Regions from separate parts of the Homo sapiens genome. Here region 2 is linked to region 1. The links are contacts of gene promoters, found by promoter capture Hi-C in blood cells and fetal thymus (Javierre and others, 2016). All regions are on one chromosome and are shown on one strand. The core of a region is centred on a gene start or on the middle of the fragment in contact, and the rest is flanking DNA. Distances in the headings are between cores, read along the strand shown.

Evidence for each region. The method cuts DNA at HindIII sites, captures the fragments that hold promoters and counts their contacts. A CHiCAGO score of 5 or more calls a contact.
Region 2: a fragment that was not itself captured here is called in contact with the fragment with the promoter of DERL1 in region 1 in 14 of 17 cell types (neutrophils, total CD4 T cells, M2 macrophages and 11 more); the score reaches 8.7 in neutrophils.

Annotation. Positions count from the first base shown.
Region 1 is chr8:123,040,584-123,045,495 of GRCh38, reverse strand. It overlaps DERL1 (derlin 1), which reads left to right and starts at 3,194. Exons shown (of 8, transcript NM_024295.6): 1 at 3,194-3,526. The coding sequence starts at 3,374. It also overlaps the pseudogene RNY4P5. RefSeq lists an enhancer at 3,245-3,784. The HindIII fragment of the contact is 6,787 bases long and covers 1,815-4,912 here.
Region 2 is chr8:122,749,601-122,754,083 of GRCh38, reverse strand. No RefSeq gene overlaps it. Among named protein-coding and RNA genes, the nearest start is that of ZHX2-AS1, 30 kb to the left of the region's middle. The HindIII fragment of the contact is 2,736 bases long and covers 1,746-4,481 here.

The sequences.
Region 1 (4,912 bases), core at 1,945-4,444:
AAAAGTAGCCAGGCATGGTGGTGGACACCTGTAATTCTGGCTACTTGGCAGGCTGAGGCAGGAGGATTGCTTGAACCCAGGAGGCGGAGTTTGCAGTGAGCCGAGATTGCGCCACTGGCACTCCAGCCTGGGTGACAGAAGCGAGAGGGAGACGCTGTCTCAAGAAAAAAAAAGAAAAAAAAAAGCACCACCTTTGGCTTTAAATAGATCTGGGTTGAAGTTTTATATATGCACCTGCCGGCAAGTGCCAAGTTACTTAACTTCTCTAAGGCTGTTTCTTCATTTGTAAATGGAAATAAAAGTACTTCATAGGGTTGAAGCATTGTTGTAAAGACTAATTAAAACCATGCCCATAAAGGGCATAGCTGAGTGCCAATCAAACTGTAGACACTCAGCAAATGTTAGATATTAGTAAATAAAAAAGTTAGCTATTAGTATAAAATGTATATGCATAAAGGTATTCATTATAGAACTATATATAGTATTTAAAAACAGGTATCAGAAATAGGAAAATGGTCAAAAGATTCTGCCACATCACTAGTAGAATATTAGTCATTAAAATGATTATTAAGACTTTGTAGAAAGAGAAAGCCTTTAAAAAATAATTATTTAAATAATATTATTAATAAATTAATAATAAATTTAATAAATATTCAATATTATTTAAAAATAATAAATATTTTTAAAAGCCAGTCAAATTTAGCAGTGGGGGGTTGTATACCAACTTTAGTGACACTAATGTTAATAAGTTCTGATAAATCACTACCATCGGACCAGCCAGAAAGCCTTTGAATGTAAAGTTACAAGAAAAGACCAGACATACCTGGCCTACCGTTGCTCTGATTTAAACTTCAGTGTTTCTAAAGGCCGAAGTTGAATTCCAGAGCATTCACTATGAATTCTAGAGCACAACTTAGAAATAAACACTGCCAGGCCGGGCGCGGTGGCTCACGCCTGTAATCCCAGCACTTTGTGAGGCCGAGGCGGGCAGATCATGAGGTCAGGAGATTGAGACCATCTTGGCTAACACGGTGAAACCCCGTCTCTACTAAAAATACAAAAAATTAGCCGGGCGTGCTGGCGGACGCCTGTAGTCTCAGCTACTCGGGAGGCTGTGGCAGCAGAATCGCTTGAACCCGGGAGGCGGAGCTTGCAGTGAGCCGAGATCCCGCCACTGCACTCCAGCCTGGGCGACAGAGCAAGACTCCGTCTCAAAAAAAAAAAAAAAAAAGAAATAAACACTGCCAGATATTGGGTGTACATTTTTCTTGTTCTTGTCTTTTCTCATGCACGTGTACTTTTAAGTTTATCAGAGAAACTTTCCTTAGCCCTCCACCTAAGCCAGATAACCCCTGTTTTCTTTCACTGTACCTTGGTTATGAGTAGTGGGTACAAAACAATGGTGGTGGTAGTAGAGGGAAATAAACAGAATAAACCTCAGGCAATATCGTCAAGTATTATCTGTTATTTATATAAATATCTAGCTTTTATATCAAAATTATCTTTTTGTAAGGCTGTATCAATTTATATTCCCACCAGCTGTGTTCTTCGTAGATTTGCTATCCATTGGTTCCCAAATGTTGTATACTCTCATTACACTGTGGAATATTTAATGCCTTTTTGTTATGAAAAAACTGTTTTTATTAATTAACATCAAGGATATGGTGCTGACAAATATTCTCTAAAATTATGGAATGTTGGAAACTCTGCTGTCTGACATCCTTTCCGTGTGAATGGAACATCCCATTCTTGTCCAGAGCATCTGAGCCATACAGGTCACTTTGACACAGGATTTTCAATACAGGTACAAAGCTTTAGATAGAGTTTTCAGACCCAACGTTTCACATTTGTCGTAATTTTGAGATTTCCAAGGAAAGAGCCTGCTTCCTACTCAGGTCTGATGTTAACCTGATGCTGCACACAGCTCTGCTTTGCTTCGAGTCTATCAAACACTGCTCCAGTTAATTCTTACCAAAAAATCCCCCCATTCCCATAACCCAATAATGACACTTCCGTTTGATGAGAGGCATTGAGGTTCCTCTGGAGTGCAGTCTCCCTTGCTGCAGCAAGTTAATAAATCTAACTTTGTTGACTACAGGTTTGTTCCTGGTGCTCTTTATTGGAAGACTTTAGCAATCTTAAACTGCTGGCCCCAAATCCCAAAACAACGGGAAACTCTACTCAGTATCTTTTCTTTTTTTCTTTTTTTTGAGATGGAGTCTGGCTCTTGTCCCCCAGGCTGGAGTGCAATGGTGCAATCTCGGCTCGCTGTAACCTCCACCTCCCGGGTTCAAGCGATTCTCCTGCCTCAGCCTCCCAAGTAGCTGGGACTACAGGCGCCCTCCACCATGCCCGGCTAATTTTTGTATTTTTAGTAGAGACGGGGTTTCATCATGTTGGCCAGGCTGGTCTCGAACTCCTGACCTCGTGATCCGCCCGCCTCGGCCTCCCAAAGTGCTGGGATTACAGGCGTGAGCCACCGCGCCTGGCCAGTATCTTTTCTTAAAGATTCCTTCTTATACAAGTTGAATTAGACAAGATGGATCATTTTGGCTTTTAGTTCCTCCAACATTCCAACCTAGTTAGAGCGGCTTTTCTCTGTGCATGGAAAATTCTTCCCCCAGATCTCTTGCCTGGCTGGCCCAGTTCATACCTAAGGTAGCCATCTGTCCTCACACTGCCGCACCCCCACCCCGTCACTCCACCTCATCATCTCATTTCATTTTCCTATTTTTCTAATCACTCTCTGAGATTATCTTACTTCATTATCTATTTGTTTATAAATTATCCCAATGAGGATGTTAAGATCAGGAGAGAGGGTACCACGACAGCGCTGACAGCCGCAGCTGCCCAGTGTCTAGAACTGTGCCCAACAAACACTTGTGGAATGAGTAAGCAGACGAGGAACTAGACACTTCGTTTGCCTTCGTCCCCTTTAAATACCCTCCAGGTGGACCCAGCCGCATTAAAACTCTGAGAACTAGGTGAATGGCATTTGGCCTCGCCACTGGCCGGAGCGTTTGCCGTTGATCCAGGCAACCACTGTTTTCCCACCAGTCGTGTAGTCGCTCTACCTGGCTCCGCCCCCCAGGACGCCGAGCCTCGGCCGGGCGGTAAAATCGGCGCTTACCCTTTAAGCGGCGGGACTTCTGGTCACGTCGTCCGCGGTCGCCGGAAGGGGAAGTTTCGCCTCAGAAGGCTGCCTCGCTGGTCCGAATTCGGTGGCGCCACGTCCGCCCGTCTCCGCCTTCTGCATCGCGGCTTCGGCGGCTTCCACCTAGACACCTAACAGTCGCGGAGCCGGCCGCGTCGTGAGGGGGTCGGCACGGGGAGTCGGGCGGTCTTGTGCATCTTGGCTACCTGTGGGTCGAAGATGTCGGACATCGGAGACTGGTTCAGGAGCATCCCGGCGATCACGCGCTATTGGTTCGCCGCCACCGTCGCCGTGCCCTTGGTCGGCAAACTCGGCCTCATCAGCCCGGCCTACCTCTTCCTCTGGCCCGAAGCCTTCCTTTATCGCTTTCAGGTACTTACCGGAGACGGGGGGCGTGGAGACTACAGGCCCCAGGAGGCCCAGCGGCGGCTAAGCGTAGGCTGGCATGTTGCGGGCGCGCGGTGCCTGCTGGGATTTGTAGTGGGTCCGGCGCCGGCGGTTTAGGGCGGGGTCCTTTGGGCCCGGGGAGGCTCTGGGATCTGGAGCGGGGTGCTGGATAGCTGGAGTTGTGGGCTGGCCTGGTGGGGAGGGGTTGACTTCACTGGTATAGTGAGATTGTGCTTCCCGCTCTTCGCACTCAGTGAAGGAAGCAGTGAGATTAGTCGTTGGTAGTTGTCAATCTGTTGGACGCTGGCGATTAGGTCCGCCTGGAGCATTGCCCTCTGACCTCCCTCTGTCACCCACGTGGGTGGCCTGTAGGTGTCAACTTCACCAACTTATAGCTGAGTTCCTTTCACGTTTATGGAGTTTTTTTGTTTTGGTTTTCCTATAGGAGTGATTTAAAGTCAGAGATACAAAGAACGAGTGTATTGTTCTGCATTTCCCTCTAGACCTAATTTAGTGTCCCCCACGTAGTAATAGAATGTACGAAGGAATGGGCAAAGAGTACATTTGTCCAGAAATGGAAGGCCTTGTTATTTTCTTAAGCATGAAGGAAACAGTCCAGAGTAACATTTCTGTCAAGAGAGTGCCAGTTTTCTGAAGGTTATCTGTATTCACCAATTTCTGATTTAAAACTTCAATCAGTGGCAGGTCAGATAGCAAGATCTGGCATTAATTTCAGCCCTTTACTTGGCCTATGGATAACATTTTCTTGTCTTTCCCTGTCTTCACTGGGTGTTACTTCTTGGTTTCCTTTGCTGGTTCCTTATCTTCCTGACTTTTAAATGTTAGGATGTGCCTTGGGAATCAGTTATAGGACCTTTTCTATAGACTCTCCCTAGCTTTAGGTGGTCTCATTCATTCAGCCTCAGGGCTTTACATACTTTCTATAAACTGGAGATTCTGAAATATAAATATAAATATCTTCAGTCCAGATCTGTCTCCCTATTTCCAGATTTGTGCATCCAGCAGTTACTTGAAATCACGACTTGGATGACTAAGAGTCATCTTCATCTTAACGTGTCCAAAACTGAATCCCCTTTCCCCCTTTGCCTTAGAAGTGAATAGCAACTCCGTTATTAGAGGAGCTGAAGTTAATTGTCGGAGTCATCTTTTATTTTTCTTGTTTTTCTCACACCCCACAATCTGTCAGCAAATCCTATTGACTCTACTTGAGACATATATCCAGAATACAATCCCTTTTCATTCTCCATTGCAAGCCATTATCACTGCAATCTGGTTCCTTTCCATCTTTTCTCTAGACAGCTAGAGTGATCCTTTTAAAACCTACATCAAGTCCTGTCTTTCCTCTGTCCA
Region 2 (4,483 bases), core at 1,864-4,363, 290 kb after region 1:
CCTTGCCTTCAGCCACAATTGTGAGGCTTCCCCAGCCACATGGAACTGTTAGTCCAATTAAACCTCTTTCTTTTGTAAATTGCCCAGTCTTGGGGATATCTGCATCAGTAGTGTGAAAATGGACTAATACAGTGCCTAATGCTCCTGCATCCACAGGCGAGTTGGTGCAGGTGGGAGTGGGGTGGTTGGGGGTGCATTAGATCCATAGGACCTGAAGGAGCTCTCTGAAAAAGGGGCTCAGCACATGGCTCCAGGTGTGGATGGCAGGATTCCTCTCTTCTTCACTCAGACCTTCAAGGAAGAGAGGGAAAGGTGGAAGAAACTGAGAGACTCCTTGCTTCTCCAACACCAGGGGTGGATGGAACACAGGGAATACTCAGATGCCATTCTCTGCCCACCTTACCAATGGGACTGTGAGTGTAGTCATCAGGTGGTTCCACCCCGCTCAGGTGACCCTGTCACTTTGGCTACCCTTGACTGTCTCATCCCACAAGAGGCAGCATAGCGTGGTGGAATGACACAGGTTTGGCATTGGAGTGATTTGGGCTTGCATCCTGGTCTTACCCCTTATTGTCCGTGTGACATTGGGTAAGTTACTTAACCTGTCTGGATCTCAGTTTTCTCATATGAAAAATGAGGATAATGATATACACTTTGTAAGTTCATGTGAGGATTGAAGTGAAATGACACATGAATGGTGTAGATACGTAACATTCAATAAAACCGTGGTTATTAAAGATACCTGATAAGATTATTTTAACTTGCGACACTAAAGAGAAAATAAACTGAGTGGTTGAGAATGACAAGAGTCACCATATAGAATAAGCTAATTGTGTTTATAGCTGTACTATGATGTGGGCTTGGTGTTTGCTTCTAATTCTCTCCTTTCCTGAACATTGATGAAACTGATAGACAGGGGATGTCTTTGTCCTCCTTCCTGATCTCCTTTGCTGTCTTTGAGCTGGTTCTGAGGCATGCACTGATCCATTTCCACATGCTACATCTCTCCCTGCTGCTTCATGCCGGAACAGTTTCTTTCTTGCATCAGAGCTAATAAAAGAGTTACAGAGAATTCTTGGCCTCTCTGTCTTGTAATTCCAAACTTCAAAGAACAGGGTCTTCCCCAACATCATGTCTACAGCAACAGCAATCTATGTTTCTATTAGCAACTGTACGGATCCAAGCAAATACTGGCTGCACAAATCTCCTTAGGTCTGCAAAGTCCTGATCCAGCACTCAGTGAATGCTGCTGGAGCTGTTTTTTCTTTTTTTAAAATAAGCCCTTTAAATAATTATAGATTCACAGGAGTTGCAAAGATAGTACAAAGAAGATACATGTACCATTCACCCAGTTTCCCCCAGTGATTACATTTGACATACCTAGGGTACAACATCAAAACCGGAAAACTGACATGGGAACAATGTGTGTGCATTGTTCTATGTCATCGATCACATGTGCAGATTTATGTAATCTAGATACAGAATTATTCCATCACTTAGGCAATGATCTCCCTCTTGCTACCTAGCCCTTTATGGTCATGTCTACCCACTCTTCCCCCACCATTCCTAACTCTTGGCAACCACTAGTCTACTTTCCAAACTGGGATACTTTTGGGAGTAGAAGGGGATGACACCAGCCATCAATTATTATGCTAGGACAACAGGTGTAAACTGGGATATTTGGTCTCCTAATCAAATGTTTTATTTCTGGGTGTGTGGTTGGGAATGGAGTGGGGAATGAAGCTTGCAGTGAAGTTCTATAGCTTGGGATGAAACATTTTTCAAGAGCTGTCTGAGAGATTTTCCCCTTTGGGTGGAGGGAGCTTCCATTGTCCTGCTGTGTAGTATGTGCCCCAGCATCTAATCATTCTGCACTCTTGCTTGCAAGACAGTAGAATAGCTTCTGCCTTCTATAGAAGTAGCTGGAGTACAGGTTTAAGGATAATTCCTTGTTTTGCACCTACCTCAACCCACTGTGTCCTGCCCTGCACTCCCATTGCACCATGAAATTGTAATCACTCAAGTTACCACTGACTCTTCATTGCTACACCCTGTCCTTGAAAGGTTGGAATTTTCCAGAATATTGGCTCAAGCTCCTCTCTCACCCTGCACTCTCTTGCTGTGTCGTCTCACCACCCCATGTCTTTAATAATCACTTAGGGTGATGACATCCATGTTGGTTAATTTCTCAGACTACTGTTTCTGCACTGACCTGGCTTCCTGTGATGAGGCTTAGCATTTCCAGTCTGCACAGTGGCATTTATTCTAGCCTCTATACATTTGGGACTCTGGTTTAAAATTGCTTTTCTTTCTTCTCTTATCTAATCTCCCCTGCCTTGCTCCAAGTGAAGTATGGATCTAGTCTATATTTTGTACATGTAAGAAGGTTAGTGCACCAATAATCATCTGTTGAATAATCCTACTGACTTGTTTTAACTTTGTAGCATGATCAGGGAATACTCACTCTTTGATTTGCTTTTTGCATTTTAATTGATGCTATATACAAGCAGGTGCGCTGTGTTTTCTTCTAAGGATGTTCCCTTTCATTCTCAAGGCGACTGCTTTCTACTTGTCCTTTCCCACTTGTATTTCTTCTCAGTTTCCTTTTGTGCCCTAATCTTTTTTGGGGCTGGTATTTTGCTGTGGTTTTCCAAGAGGGGTACCCTGAGACAGCGGGTGACAATGAAAAATATCCCAGTATAGGAGCTACGTGTATAGAACTACATGACCTGGATCCTTCTATCCTTAATACCCAGCTCAGAAGCTAGTTCTTTGTGAAACTCTTTCTAGTTTCCCAATCAGAAATTATTTTCAGTTCTTTCAGGGTTCTTAAGCACTTCTTTTTAGCTCTGATTTTATCCTGCCTTGTGTCATAGGACACTTACATGCTGCTTTATTAGACTAACAACTCTTTGAGTACAGAGGTTTTTTTTTTTTTTTTTTTGACAGAGTTTCTCTCTTGTTGCCCAGGCTGGAGTGCAATGGCGTGATCTCAGCTTACTGCAACCATCACCTCCCAGGTTCAAGTGATTCTCCTGCCTCAGCCTCCTGAGTAGCTGAAATTGAAAGTGCCTGCCACCATGCCCAGCTAAGTTTTTGTATTTTTAGTAGAGTAGGGTTTTCACCTTGTTGGCCAGGCTGGTTTCGAACTCCTGACCTCAGGTGATCCACCTGCCTCAGCCTCCCAAAGTCCTGGGATTACAGGCATGAACCATGGTGCCTGGCTGAGACTGTGCTTTATTTTTCTTGGAGCCACCTCAATAGAATATTGTCTTGCATATGGTAGATGCTTAGGAAAGGCTTGTAAAAATAATAGTTGTGTGATCTTAGGTAAGTCACTCTTCCTCTCTGGTCATTTTTTATTTCCTTATCTATAAAATGAGGAAATACACAGGGTTGGAAAAGATGATCTTTAAAACTCCTTTCTGCTCAAGAATACTTCAAAAAAAGGTAGCTATCTCCCTTGCTAGCTCTGTGAATTCTAGAATTGTCATCTGGAACCAGTCTATGTCCCCTGGAGCCCCTAGTCTAACTTCAGAGAGAATTGTGAAGCAGAGTTCTTGTAGTACTGACAGTCTTTCTAGGCTTTATGCATGTACTACATTGTCAAAAATAAAATTTACTTCCACCCCAGACAAACCAACCAATCAAGCAAAGACTAGAAGAAAAAAGCACTCATATAAACATTCACATGCATCTACATATGCACTGCATGTATGTGAACACGCATCCCTTGTTTGTTGAAAAGAAAAGATTGCCTTATACCCAGAGAGATGATGAACAAGGAAGTAAGAGAATCAAACACATTAGTTCCCTTGCTTACTCTCTTTAGTTATTCTTTCCTCTTAGTTATTATTTATAATTTAAATATAACTATTGTTTAGGTGCAAGATATTTTTATTACAGTTTGTATGGAAGAACCTTAGCAAGAAAAAGCAATTTGCATATTTTTTCCTTAAAAAGAAAAAAAAGAAAGAAAAGAAAAAAAATGCTCTTCCTCTAACAACATCCTACAGTCCTTCTAAAATAAACCTTTCTTCTTAATTATTCCTGAATGGACATCTCAATCTGTTTCATATGAATGTAAAACTGTTGATACTAATTAAGAAAAAGAAAAACATGAGTAATTAGGAAAAATATTAAAAGTCTTTCTTACATTTGTAGAGGGCTTTGGAGTTAAATAAAATATGCTTTGTTATGAGTTATTTTATTTAATGATTAAAACAACCTATTGGAGGAAGTGAGTGAAGTGTTATAATCCCCATTTTATAGATGAGAAAACTGAGGCTCAGAGAGATTATCTTTCACAAAGTTATGCATTTAGAAAACTGCGGAGTTCATTTATAGTTCAGGTTTTTTGGACTCTAAACCTAATGCTCCATGTTGTAGGATTCCTAATATTTGATGATATCAACAACAATTTATGTGTTCAATATAGAGCTTTACCCAAGTTTGCAGTTTCCTGGCAGAAATAATAAGCTTC